Regions from separate parts of the Homo sapiens genome. Here region 2 is linked to region 1. The links are contacts of gene promoters, found by promoter capture Hi-C in blood cells and fetal thymus (Javierre and others, 2016). All regions are on one chromosome and are shown on one strand. Each heading gives the region's core, a stretch centred on a gene start or on the middle of the fragment in contact. The rest is flanking DNA. Distances are from core to core; before and after follow the strand shown. Region 1 holds the start of ERCC4 (ERCC excision repair 4, endonuclease catalytic subunit). Region 2 holds the start of LOC642696 (a long non-coding RNA gene).

What was found. The method cuts DNA at HindIII sites, captures the fragments that hold promoters and counts their contacts. A CHiCAGO score of 5 or more calls a contact.
Region 2: a contact is called between a fragment that was not itself captured here and the fragment with the promoter of ERCC4 in region 1, in 2 of 17 cell types (total CD8 T cells and naive CD8 T cells). The highest score is 5.9, in total CD8 T cells.

What each region holds. Positions count from the first base shown.
Region 1 is chr16:13,918,408-13,925,199 of GRCh38, reverse strand. ERCC4 (ERCC excision repair 4, endonuclease catalytic subunit) reads right to left here and starts at 5,046. Exons shown (of 11, transcript NM_005236.3): 1 at 4,828-5,046; 2 at 2,989-3,169. The coding sequence starts at 5,034. All of the region lies in intron 1 of LOC105371093 (a long non-coding RNA gene), which reads left to right. It overlaps LOC124903647 (a long non-coding RNA gene), which reads left to right and starts at 5,122. Exons shown (of 2, transcript XR_007065001.1): 1 at 5,122-5,521; 2 at 5,617-5,735. It also overlaps the pseudogene RPS26P52. RefSeq lists enhancers at 4,593-4,802, 4,843-5,202, 5,413-5,462. The HindIII fragment of the contact is 6,939 bases long and covers 1,372-6,792 here.
Region 2 is chr16:12,088,055-12,094,846 of GRCh38, reverse strand. All of the region lies in intron 11 of SNX29 (sorting nexin 29), which reads right to left. It overlaps LOC642696 (a long non-coding RNA gene), which reads left to right and starts at 4,907. Exons shown (of 2, transcript XR_109256.5): 1 at 4,907-5,078; 2 at 6,662-6,792. RefSeq lists a silencer at 4,939-4,988 and an enhancer at 6,665-6,734. The HindIII fragment of the contact is 974 bases long and covers 3,558-4,531 here.

The sequences.
Region 1 (6,792 bases), core at 3,797-6,296:
CTGATACTACATCCCAGGTAACTGGGTTAGGTGTTTCTATAGATTTTCATTTCATTTAATTGTTATGATAATTCCATGCAGTAGGTATCATGATGAGACCAAGGAAGGGAAGCAACTTAACCAAGGTCATCCAGCAAGCAAGTGGGAGGCCGAAGGTTCCAAATCATGTGTAAAATCATGTTATTCCTATTTAGTCACACCAACTCAAGACACTCCTTTTTCAAAAAATAAAAATAATAGAAGCAGGTTAGGTTTTTGGGAGGAGTTTTAGCTCCACAAAAGCCTACTTTAGTTTTTTTTGTTCCTATGACATTTTGTACCCATACTGTACTATAACTACTTCTTTACTTGTCTCCTCCATTAAACTGCCCGAGAACAGGAACATCGTAACACCAACAGGCAGAGATCACAGAGATCATAGAATGCTGACTATGTGCCATGCTACCAAGTATTTTACATATAAGCATTTCATTTCACCCTGACAATCCTAGGAGGAAGGTACTATCTTTATCACCAATGTACGGGTGAGTAAGCTGAGGCATAGAGAAATTAAGAAACTTGCCTAAAAATACACAGCTGGTGCAAGATGAAGATAACTCAAACCCAGAAGCAGTCTAACTCACGAGTTCACCATACTGTCCCATTCATCTGTCTATCTTCAGCACCCTTCCTGCCAAACAAGGGACCCTTAGTGAGTTAAATATTTGTTGAATGAATATAAAGTGGAGGCACAGCACTGGGTACACAAATCAAAAGTGTAACTGAAAAATACATATATATTTCCCAGAAAGTGTGTTCTTAGTTCTGTCTGGAGATGTCAGGGTCAGTTTTGGCAATGAAAGCATCCTCCTGTCCTGTTCTTTTCAAGGTACAACCTCACCAGATATTTATATAGTTCTCCCACGTGTTAGGAGTTCTGGTTAGCAGGGATTCCCAGGGTGGGGTGTGGTGGTAATAATGGGTGGTGACAGGTGAAGAAGTTGGGGCTGGGGGATTCAGCCTTTCCAGAGGGTTACCTGCACTTCACGCACTGCTCTTTGGTCAGTCCTGGGGGATGATCCCAGGGGATGAAAGAATTCAAAAGAATTCATTTTTGGCATTCATTTACATTCCACTCAGCCAAGCATCAGTAACAGCTCCAGCTTCATTATTCGGTGGGCTTTGATCAGAAAGGAGGAGGGAATTTGGCATTTTTCATTAGGAGCTACAGATAAGCCAGACTTCAACGTTGCATAAATTCACATTGCTCTCTGCCTAATTAGGTTGCACTGTAACTGAAAGTCACAGGATATTACTGACACCTAGTGGTAGTTTTAAACACAACAAAAAAATTTTTTTAAATCAATTTAAAAAATAAAGTAAAACCAAGCTTATAAGAAAGCAGCAAACAGTAAAAGACTGGTGTATCAAGATTTCTGGTTACAAAAGGCCAATTTTATTTGGTATGAATTACTAAGAGTTTGTTGTGTACCAGGCACTATACTAAGAAATTATTTTATTAACTTAATCCTTATAATAACTTCAGGAAGCACTGTTTTCTTAATGAGAAAACTGGGGTTAATGAAAATTAAGGAGTTTGCTTTGTAAGCAGGGTGTTAGCATTCAAAACCAGGTGAGCCTATGATACTGTTTATAACAATTATAAAAGTTATAAAAGAGTAACCAAACTTCTTCAGTCGGTTTACCATTGAAGCATTCATTGACACATTTATTTATCAAATTTTTCTTGAGGGTCATCTAGGTTCAGGGCAACATGACAGATACAGTGGGAATAAGATTATGAATTTCAGAGTCTCTCTGCCTCCAGAAGTTCACTAACGATCACAGTACTATATCCATCCATCATTCACCCAACAAATACGTCTTTAGTGCCTACCATGTACCAGTTATTTAGCCTGGGATGAACAACTTGTTCCTTGTGCTTCAGCTTATCTTGTGAGTGAGATAGACAAACACATAAATATAATGTAGTGTTGTGAGCACTATGACTGGGGAGAAATACAGGGTAATATGAGGGCACAGAGGCACAGCCCCTACATTAGCTTTGGGGACATCAGAAAAGGTTTTGAAAGGATAATGAAAATGAATTTCTTTTCTATTTAATTCTAGCTAAAATAATTTTTCCTCAAAATAAGCAAGCAACTACTTGATTTAATTTCAAATAATGCCAAAAAAATCTTAAGGAGGAAAACTAAATATTTTAGGAAATATACAAAGATTATTTATAAACATTTCAAATCTGATTAAGTTCTAAAAGCAAATGCTAACGAATTGCAAGTATTTACTGAATAAGAGCTTAGAAAACAATGAAAAGTTAATCTAACATTTAGTTACTTATTCAGGTCACAGATATTTACTGAGCATCTACAATGTGTCAGGTATCATGCTGAAAGTTGGAAGCATAATGTTGAACAAAAGGATCCAGTAGTGCCCACTAGAAGGTTCTAGTAGAGCGTTCAGCAGAGGAGACAGACAAAAATAAAAATGTAGAAAATACCCTCTCCGGTCCGTGCCTCCAAGATGACAAAGAAAAGAAAGGACAACGGTCATGCCAAAAAGGGCTGCGGCCATGTGCAGCCTATTTGCTGCACGAACTGTGCCTGATGTGTGCCCAAGGATAAAGCCATTAAGAAATTCGTCATTCAAAACACAGTGGAGGCCACAGCAGTCAGGGACATTTCTGAAGCGAGCATCTTCGACGCCTATGTGCTTCCCAAGATGTATGTGAAGCTAAATTACTGTGTGAGTTGTGCAATTCACAACAAAGTAGTCAGGAATCGATCTTGTGAAGCCTGCAAGGACCGAACACCCCCACCCAGATTTAGACCTGTGGGTGCTGCCCCACGACCCCTACCAAAGGTGATGTAGGGAGCTGAGTCCTTCAAGACTGAAGACAGACTATTCTCTGGAGAAAAATAAAATGGAAATTGTACTTAAAAAAAAAAAAGTACAAATTTACATACTAATAATAAGATTTCAAATTCTTACCAGTAATTAAATCTGAAGGTATTCTATCAGTCAAGAAGTCAACCACAAGTATCCTACTTGTCGCAAATATAACACCACCTTGTGTGTAAACTTCATAGCGACTGTTGCTTGTGATTTCATTTGTTACACGGCGAGGGAGGTGTTCAACTCCTTCTATCTTCAGCTGATTGATAAAATACTCCTAAATCAAATCAAACTTGATTAGTAGGCTATTTAATACAGGGCAGTTTTTAATAGGTCACAGATATTTAAAATAATGTGCTGTCTTTCTCTGAGATAATGAACTTAATAATGAATATACACACTAAGTTACTTCTTTATAGTAACTTCAGCCAACCAGTCTACATTTAATGAGGTTTTCTTGTTTTGGGGTTTACACTAAGGAATAATTGCACTTCAGTCATTATCAGCACTCAACTACAATAACATATGCACACACATACAAAACCTCAAACTTTTAAAAGCCTGGATTAAAAGATTTCTGCTACCTAGAAAATACTTCCCACCAAAGCCAGGTTTGTAGCCAAGCACATTCTATGAGATGATAACAAGGGAATCCTTTCCCCAGACAATGTTTTAGACTATCAGTTCTGTGCTAATCTATCCTAGAGGGACTTCATGTCACTGGGTCCCTTGGCTTGGTTTATTTATATCCCCAGTTTAAAACCATCTTTACTAGGCCCTGTGTGTTGCCTTAGGCCCTATGCCAAGCACTGGGGATACCTAGATGAATCAAACAGGATCCCTGCCCTCAAAGAGACTGTGGTCACTCTTCTCAGCTGACATTTTTCTCCCGGCCACCTGATATATCTAGGGGATCATCAGACTTGTCCGACCAAGCTGTGTCCCCTCTCAACACCCCTCAGACCCATGTGTAGCCCCATTCCATCTTTCTCAGTGTTCTCCATTGTCCTTAACTGTAGTTAACCTTTGCCAACATCCTCAGCGTCAAGCTCCAATCCCTTTCTGACCCTATGGCCCTCTTAACACAGCCTTGGTGAATGTCCTATTTCCTGGTCCCTCCTTTTCCCTATTGGGGTTTTTCCAGCGCCTCAGCATCTCCTTTCATGTCTCCCCATCACCCTCAGAGATCTTCCATCCTCATCACTGTTCCCTTTCAGGGACCTTCCTTCTGCCCCCAGAAACTCCCTTAATGGCCAACTTCAGGACTCTCCCGTTATTCCTATCCAGATCCTCCTTCCGACATCTCCCCCTCCCCTGCAGCGACCTCCGATCCTCTCCTACCACTCAGAGCCCCTTCACCTTTCAGTGCCCTTGCACCCATGTCAGGGACCTGCATCCTTCTGGGGACCCCTCCCATCCCTCTTAGTGTTGTCAGGGAATTGCATCCTTCTCGGGACCCCTTCCATCATTCTCACTGTGCCTGCACAGTGTCAGGGACCCGCATCCCCTGGGGACCCCTCCCATTTCTCTTAGTGTTCTTGAACTCTGGTCAAAGACTTGCATCCTTCTTGGGACCCCTCCCTTCCCTCTCAGAGTCCCCGCACAGTGTCAGGGACTGGCATTCCTCTTAGTGTTCTTCAACTCCTGCCAGGGACCTGCAGCCTTCTCGGGGCCCCTCCAATTCTTATCAGTGTCCCCGCACGGTGTGAGCGACCGGTATCCTCCTAGCGACCCCTTACATACGTCTGTGTTCCCGCAGTGTGAGGGACCTGCATCCCCCTGGGGACCCCTGCCATCCTTCTCTGTGTCATCGCGTAGTGTCAGGGGCCTGAATCCCCCTCAGAGCCCCTCCATCCCTGTCAGAGGCCTCGCATCCGCTCAGGAGGCCCTCAACACTCTCGGAGTCCCCTCACTCCCGCGCCAGCGCGGCCGCACCTCCTCGGCCGGCTGCGTGTTGAGCACCAGCACCAGGCAGGCTGGGTGGCAGTGCAGCTGGAGAAAGTGGTAGAGGAGCCGGTCCGCGCCGAGCCCGCGGGCGCACACTACTAGCCCGTCAGTGTCGAGCAGTTCCAGCACCAGCTGTCGCTCGTACTCCAGCAGCGGCGCCATGGCAATCCGTCGAGCCGGCTGCCCTGACTCCATGGAAGCTCTTCCGGGTCGCAGCCGAACGCAGCCGAAGGAAGCCGACTCCTAGTGGAGAGTAGGCCGAACTCAACCGAAGAGAGCCGAGTCCGAGAGGACGGCAGCCAGCCGAACGTAGCCGAGGAGAGCTGAGACTGAGATGATCGTGGGCCGAACGCAGCCGAAGAGGAGCCGAGGCCACGACAGGCGCGCTCTCAGAAAGCCGAAGAGAGCCGAGCCTGAGAAGGCAAGCGTTGGCCGAACTCAGCCGAAGAAGAGCCGAGTGGAGCCGAAGATTCATGGAGTCACCTGTAGGGGCTGGCGCCCCCTGTCGGTGTAGCTTGCAGATATCAGGCTCCATTCACGTCTCTTTTGAGTTTCCACATCCCCTGGCACCCTAGCCTCAAGCTGCCAAAAAGCAAGGGAAGGGGAAGTAAGCCTAAGGAGCTTAATCCCCCGACATCGACAGTTGAAAAAGTTACTGGTCAATATTCCAAATGCGCCAAGAGTTAGTAGCACCTGTTTCCTAGGGTGGTTTTTGGCCCTTCCTTTTGCGATTACTCCCCATCCTTCTTTTAATTTTTTTTTTCTTTCCCGAGACAGGATGTTGATATGTTGCCCAGGCTGGAGTGCAGTGGCTGTGGAATAAGCAGAATCATTTACTGACTTCAGACCTCTGTTTGCCTCCCAAAGACTTCAATACAATAAACTATTTTTAAAAATCCCTCCTTCCACTAGAGGGACACCTCCCGCAGTGTTTGTTCTATACCTAGAAATGCCTGATAGTTGAACTAGTAGAGGAATTGTTTTGTATAGAAACCCCCCACCTTTGTTATTAGAAAATAGAAAATACAAGTAAACAAAAATGAAAATCACTTGTTTCCATTACTTGGAAATAACCACTGTTAACATCACGAAATCTATTTTATTTAGTCCTTTTTTTTCTATCTATATACACATTCTCTCATCACACGGAGTTCTTTTACCGACACGAGATAATTAATATCCCTGATTTAAATCCCCAGCTTTGTCATTAACATTTGGCAAACCTCTGAACATGATGTTTCATATTCTTTTACAAAGTCCTTTTATATGGCTGATGAGATTTCCATTATGTGGGTGTACTTACCTAATTGCTTATTAGAGGACATTTAGTCTGTTTCTGCTTTTTCCCTTCCAGTAATATAAATAATATTTCACTAAACATCTTTGTATGTAAATTCAGCCGTGGCCTTCAGATACACGTCTAGAAATGAATAATCACTGGGATAAAGAGAAAAAAATTTGTAAGGCTTTTCATTCCATTCACATTGCCACATTGCCCTCTAGAAAGCCTATACCAATTCACATTCACACTAGCCGTTTCCAAGAGGATCTGTTCCTCTACCTCTTTACTGCTTAATCTGGTATTTTGCTTACATTTTGTCAAGATGAAAATAGCATATAATTCCTGAATGCTGTTTAAGTGGAAAGGGTTGCCGGCAGACACTTTACATACAGCGTTTCCTCTGAGGCAGATATTAATCTCGTCAGTTCTGCCAGTGAGAAAAATGGAGGTGCAGGGAGGTTATATAACTTGGGCAAGGCCACGGGAGCTAGTTAGTGTATTTCTTAGATCTATTTCAGGACGTGATATGGGGGTACTCAACACATATTTAGGAAATGAAGATTGAAATGACAAAGCTGAAATTCAAACCTGACTCCCAAGCGGTGGTAGGCAGAATATCGGCTTCCCAAAGATGTTCATATCCTAATCCCTGGAGCCTGTAGGTTGTTTTA
Region 2 (6,792 bases), core at 2,795-5,294, 1.8 Mb after region 1:
CGGTTCCTGGAAAACGGCCCTGCTGCTTCCTTCTGTCTTGGGGTTTCTCAAGTACTGTCGTTTGGGACTAGATAATGCTGTGTTGGGAGGAGCTGTCCTGTTGGGAGGACCTGTCCTGTCCACCACAGGACGTTCAGCAGCATCCCTGGGCTCTACTTAGCAGATGCCGGAAGGACCCTCATCCCAGGTGTGACAACCATATATGTCCCAGACATGGCTAAATGTCCCCTGGGGGTTGCAATCACCCCCAGCTAAGAACCACCATCCTGCGTGATCACTTCCAATTTTCAGGCCTCATAGAAAGAGTAGCCTGGTTTATGTCCTCTTAACCAGAGGGAGGATTGAGGGGTAGATACCAGCTAAAGGGAACTTCAGGGCCTCTGCAGGAGGGATGGTTTCAGTAAGATGGAAAATCAGGTCAACCTATTTGCAGTTCAACAATAAGGCCCAGATGTTGTTTTCAGGAAGATTCGTCAGCAACGTACCCTTTGAGGGTGTTGTTAATGATCACACCTACCAGTTATTCAGTCTTTAAGATGCCAGATACTCTCTTGGATTTTTTTTCCAATTTTTCTTATCAAGGTATAATTTACATAGCATATAACACCCTTCGATAGCTCAGGTGGTAATTTACATAGTGTATCTTCTGAGTATCTTCCATCTGTTAGTTCATTTAATCCTCACAACTGTGTCAGAGGGGTACTATGATAGCCCCATTTTATAGACGAGAACGCTGAGGCACAGTTAGCTTAAATAACTTGCCCAGGTTCCCACTGCTAATACATGTAGGGATGTGCGTAAGAACACAGCCAGTGTAGCTGGTTTAACATCAGCAAGCAGAACAGTAAAAACAAAAATAATGATACCACGATTGCCAGTGTTGCCCCAGACACTATGTGCAATTACCACCTGCTAACTACCTGAAGTGTTTCGTGTTTCTTACTTTTTTCTAAAGCCTGGAACACTCTGAAGGAGAGTCGTGAAAGCAAAGGAACTTCTCCCCAGGAAAATCCACGTATGTGCACAAACACACAAGCACGATTTTGCACACAATTGCAAGAGGTATCTGAAATCTCTAAAACTATCTATGAGCCTCCAATGAGGTTCCCAGATACAACAGACACTTCATATAACTCCCAGGAATCCACCAAGGGGATAATATTACCACCATTTCAAGGACTGGGAAAACGAGTTCAGAGAAATTAAAGCATTTGCCCGGGGTCACATAGATCTTTCTCTTTAAGACACGGTCTCACTCTGTCACCCAGGCTGTGGTGCGATCAAGGCTCACAGTAGCCTACAACTCCTGGGTTCAAGAGATCCTCCTGCCTCAACCTTCCGAGTAGCTGGGATTACAGGCACGTGCCACCATGTCTGGCTTTTCTGTCTTCTTCTTTTGTAAAGAGAGGGGGTCTCACTATGTTGCCCAGGCTGGTTTTGAACTCCTGGCCTCAAGCAATCCTCCTGCCTTGTCCTCCCAAAGTGTTGGGATTACAGCCAGGAACCACTGCACGTAGCCACACAGCTCTTGAACAGCAGTGCTGTGGTCTGCCTGACCCATGTTCTTTCCATCCCAACACATTGCTTCTCAACTTGCCGTGATCACTGACATCAGGGCCCTACAAAACTAAAGGATGTGTAAAGTGCAGAAAGGATTTACATATCTAATATTCTAGTGGCTCTGATGATATACAGTGGCAATGTAAGGGCTGCTGGCCACTCAGAATTAAAACCTGAAGGTGACATTTGCCTTTCACAAAGACAGTTGTTGATTCACCTCTACAAACTCCATAAGACAGCATCTCAGCAAAACAGTCCACAGGGGTCTGGCACTCACACAAATACCATTCTGCCTCTTTCCAGCCCTCTTCCCACATCGGCCAACACCTGGCCTCGGGTATAAAAAGTTATGGGCCAAATGTCCAAGCCAGTGTGTTTACTGATACTGGCTTGCCTAGCCAAAAGCCATTCAAATTCACCTGAATGTCACCACATGTGTAAAGGAGACAGTAGGCAAGGGGGAAAGGAAGACACCTGTCTTTGGTATCAAAGAAACTAACGAGGTCAGGCAAGTCATGAGAAACTTCAGCAGAGTGGTTCTTTAATCACCGCAAATGAGAATGTGGATATTCTGGCTCCTTTCCCAGAACAGATGGTCAGCACCACAAAGAATCCTTGAGGGAAGCCTCCTCCACTTCATAGCTTGCGAAACTGAGGCACAGAGAGGTCAAGCGACCTACTACTCTCAGAGCCAGGATCAAAACCAAGTGTTCCCATTCACTGAGAGCAAATAGTTTGTAATGCATCATTCCACTACAACCAGCTGCATCTCCCTGACACAAGAGGAAAAAAGGTGAAAATCCACTCCCTTGAGCAACTCATATTACCAGGCCTTTACTGCATCCCGAGATAGAGACACAATGGTGATTATAACAGACTGGAGCCCGCCCTCTGGGAACTCGGTTTCAATTCATTCCTGCAGAATGCACTTTTAACTCTCCATGCTTGTTAGAACTAAAATAAACATTAGTTCCTTTGTTCCTTCCTTCCTTCCTTCCTTCTTTAAATGTCTCTTGAACAACTACTTGTCAGGCAGGATTTGGGGGAGGAGGAAAATGGCAATTAACTAGCAGACAAAGTGTGTCTACTCAGGGAGCTTGTATCCCAGTGGGGGCTACAGGAAAGAAACTAAAGAGGGGAGTGAGGTTACAGGGGGCTCTGAAACCTGAAGTCAGCAGCCAGGGAAGTGCTGCACTTGGGGGGATGGGATGAGATTGCCTGTGCTGCGCTCTTCTAGATGGACGGCCAGGGAAAGAGGGCCTCTTGCAGGAGCACCTCCGCCGAGTAGGGCTGCGAAAACAAAACACCATGGACCCGGTGCACTGTGAACGACAGGGACTGATTTTCTCACAGTTCTGGCAGCTGGAAGTCCAAGATCAAGGCACCGACAGATTCGGGATCTGGTGAGGGTCCTCTTCTTGGTTCACTGATGGCGCCTTCTTGCTGTGTCATCATTACATGGCAGAAAGGGTAAACAAGGTCTCTGGGGTCCCTTTTTTTTTTTTTTTTTTGAGAAGGATCTTGCTCTGTTGCCCAGGCTGGAGTGCAGTAGCATGATCTTGGCTCACCGCAGCCTCAAACTCCTGGGCTCACCTCAAAGTGGGCTCACTTCCAAGTAGCTGGGACAACAGGCACGCACCACCAAGTCTAATTTTTGTGTGTGTGTAGAGACAGGGTCTATCTGTGCTACTCAGGCTGGTCTCGAGTTCTGGGATCAAGCAATCCTCCTGCCTCAGCCTCCCAAAGTGCTGGGATTGCAGGCATAAGCCATGATACCCAACCTCTGGGGTCCCTTTTTTAAGGGCACTAATCCCACTCATGAGGGCTCCAGCCTCATGACCTAATCAACTCCCAAACGCCCACCTCCTAACACCATCACACTGGGGGTTAGGATTCCAACCTAGGAATTTTAGGGGCACACAAACATTCAGTCTATAGCAAAGGGGACATCCTGAGACCTGGGTGCTTTTCTCTGAAGGTGGGGCATTACACAAGCTTGTGGGTCTCCAGGAACGGCAAGGAGGGGGAGCGGGTGTGAACCCTGCCTCCACCACCCAATAGCAGTATGACCTTCAGCAAAGCCTCTCAGTTTCTTCAACTACAGAACAAGTCTAGCACTCCTATTTTACACGGATGCTATGAAGATTAAGCATTAGTGAAGGTAAAGCCTGGTTTATGGTAGGTAAAATGAATAAGAAAGTATTTGTATTATTACTATTTTCCAGGCGCTCTTTTTTCTTTTTCTTTCTTTTTTTTTTTTTTTTTTTTTTTTGAGATGAAGTCTCACTCTGTCGCCCACGCTGGAGTGCAGTGGTGTGATCTTGTCTCACTGCGACCTCCACTTCCTGGGTTCAAGTGATTCTCCTGCCTCAGCCTCTCGAGTAGCTGGGATTACAGGCATGCACCACCACACCTGGCTAATTTTTGTATTTTTAGTAGAGACAGGGTTTCACCATGTTGGCCAGGCTGGTCTTGAACTCCTGGCCTCAGGTGATTGATCTGCCTGCTTCAGCCTCCCAAAGTGCTGGGATTACAGGTGTGAGCCTCCATACCTGGCCTTCCAGGCACTCTTTGAAGGAAAATCTAGAATTGCCCCAGAAATAGGAATGAACTTACGGATGGATTTGATATGTGAAGACTGGCAGAGGCCATCTGGAGAGAAACCAGGATGGAAATGGGAAACCAGGCAGCATCCTAGAATTCAAACCCTAAACCCCGGGACTAGGGTTTGGAGCTGGCACTTGAACCCTTGGGGAGCTACCAAATGGGCTTAAAAATTGGTCCCAAGGGGGTCTCCAGATGTGACTTCAAGAGGAACTGGCCTCCCTGGAGCAACGCCACCACCTACCATCAATAACCGCGTGAGGCGGCACGGAACATTTACCCCCATTCCCTCCCACTGCCTCTGCATTCCTGCGCAAAGTCCTAACCCGGAAGAACTAGAGCCCCGCCGCTCCCCACCGTAAAAGCTTCCAGGTAGCTGAGAAGGCTCCAATCACAAAGGATGCCCGGTTCCACACTCAAGTCTAATGCCTTACTAAGCTAGTACGTTTGGACCTCAGAACACCCCTGAGACGCCGGTGAGAATGTCCTCATTTCACAAATGAGGACAGGGGACCAGAGAGTCTTTAAGGAAAAAAGAAAGAGAAATCTAGTTAGGAAGTGGTGGAGCTGAGGCTGGAAGCCAGGACTCTGATACCGGCCCGCGCACCGCCCCACCCCGCATCCTGGCTCCAGAACTCCCCGCTGGGACGCGTCTCTCCTGCTGCACCTAGCACAGCTCTATGACTCACGGGTGTTAGGGCACCGTGCTTAGGGCAGTGACAGGACTGTCAGCAGCCTGAGAGTATGGCCGCTAAGTCAACTCAGGACTCCCTACCCCGAGACACAGGGGAGCCCTCAGCACTGCCTGTACAAGGGAGGGCGGAGGGAAGGAGCAGTGAAGGACGGAAGGAACGCACTGCTGAGTGTGCTCTGCGTGGCAAGCAGGCTTCAGAGCCTGCTCTTCGCAAGAGGAAGTGAGTAAATCCTATCGCCCCTGCTTCAAGTCCTCCACTGGCTTCCCATTGTACGTGGGATAAAATCTACACGAGCCACCCTCTCCAGCATCCTCCAACTCACTCTCCCCCTCACTTCTGGCAGCGCAATGCCAGCGGTACCACCCGCCACCAAAACAGGCCAAACCCCCCATCCTGAGACCTCAGCCCCGCTGACATCTGAGAGAAGCCCTTTCCTGAAACATGCCTTAAAACAGGGCATAGGCTTTGCCTTTCTAATGCTTGCTGCTTGTCTTCCCCACAGTTCTGACAGCTTCTGAGGGCAGGACCTTTGCTTCTTGTTCATCAGTATATAAACCAAGAGTAGCAGTGTGGCGATCATATTATACTATGGACACTGGGCAGAAATAGTTGCAGGTTTTTTTCTATTGGGTTTTTTTAATTTTTTTATTTTATTTTTTGAGACGGTCTTGCTCTGTCACCCAGGCTGGAGTGCAGGGTCATAATCATTATTCACTAAAGCCTCGACCTCCTAGGCTCGAACAATCTTCCCACCTCAGCCTCCCAAGTAGCTGGAACTACAGGCAGATGCCAGGTGCCACCACCACACACTTTTTCTTTCTTTCTTTCTTTCTCTTTCTCTTTTCTCTCTCTCTCTCTCTTTTCTCTCTCTCTCTCTCTCCTCTCTTTCTTTCTTTCTTTTTGAGACAAAGTCTCACTCTGCCTCCTAGGCTGTAATGCAGTGGTATGATCTTGGCTCACTGTAGCCTCTGCCTCCCAGGTTTAAGCAATTCTCTGCCTCAGCCCCCTAGTACCTGGGACCACAGGTGCCCACCACTATGCCCAGCTAATTTTTGTACTGTCAGTAGAGATGGGGTTTCGCTGTGTTGGCCAGGCTGGTCTCGAACTCCTGACCTCAAGAGTAATCCGCCCGCCTCAGCCTCCCAAAGTGCTGGGATTATAGGCATGGGCCACTGCACCTGGCCAATTTTTAAATGTTTTTATTTGTAGAGGAAGGGTCTTGCTATGTTGCCCAGGCTGGTCTTGAACTCCTGCATTCGAGCCATCTTCCCACCTCAGCCTCCCAAAGTGCTGGGATTACAGGCGTGCGCCACTGCCCCGGCCATAAATTGTGTTTGAATGGAAAAAGGGATCCAGCAAACAGTAAAAGAACAGAAGAAAATACAAAGAAAGAAATCTCTCTTTTTTCTTCAAAAAGAAAAGCACTCCTGTCAACACTCGAAACGCCATTCCTCTGCCATTTTCACATAGCATGACCACAATGTCCTTACGCTCCCTGAGCCAAGCCTTCCCATATAAATGAGGGCTGGGGAGGGATAGCTAAAAATCCTTTCTAAGTATAAGAACAAGTGGGAACAGAGTCTATGTCTGTCAAACAGCACAAGTCAGCACCCATGTCCTAAAAGCACCCTGCAGAGCTTACAAGGGACACCTGGCAACGTGGCACCTCCCCCTAGCAACATGAAAACACCCACCCAACACCCGCCCCTGCTCTGACCCCGCAGAGCCGGTCCCGCTGCAGCCTTCTGCAGGTGCTGGATCAGCTGACCAGATCTGTTCCTGCCTCTCCTGTCTCTCTCTAGCTTTCTGCCTGGCCCAAACAGTGACACTGTGAGGCCTGCTGCAGAGACTGAGCTGGTGCCCTGCAGCCTCAGACACCCACGGCAGGACCTGTGTGGAGAGCACCCATCCTTCCCAGTCATGCAGCCTAGCC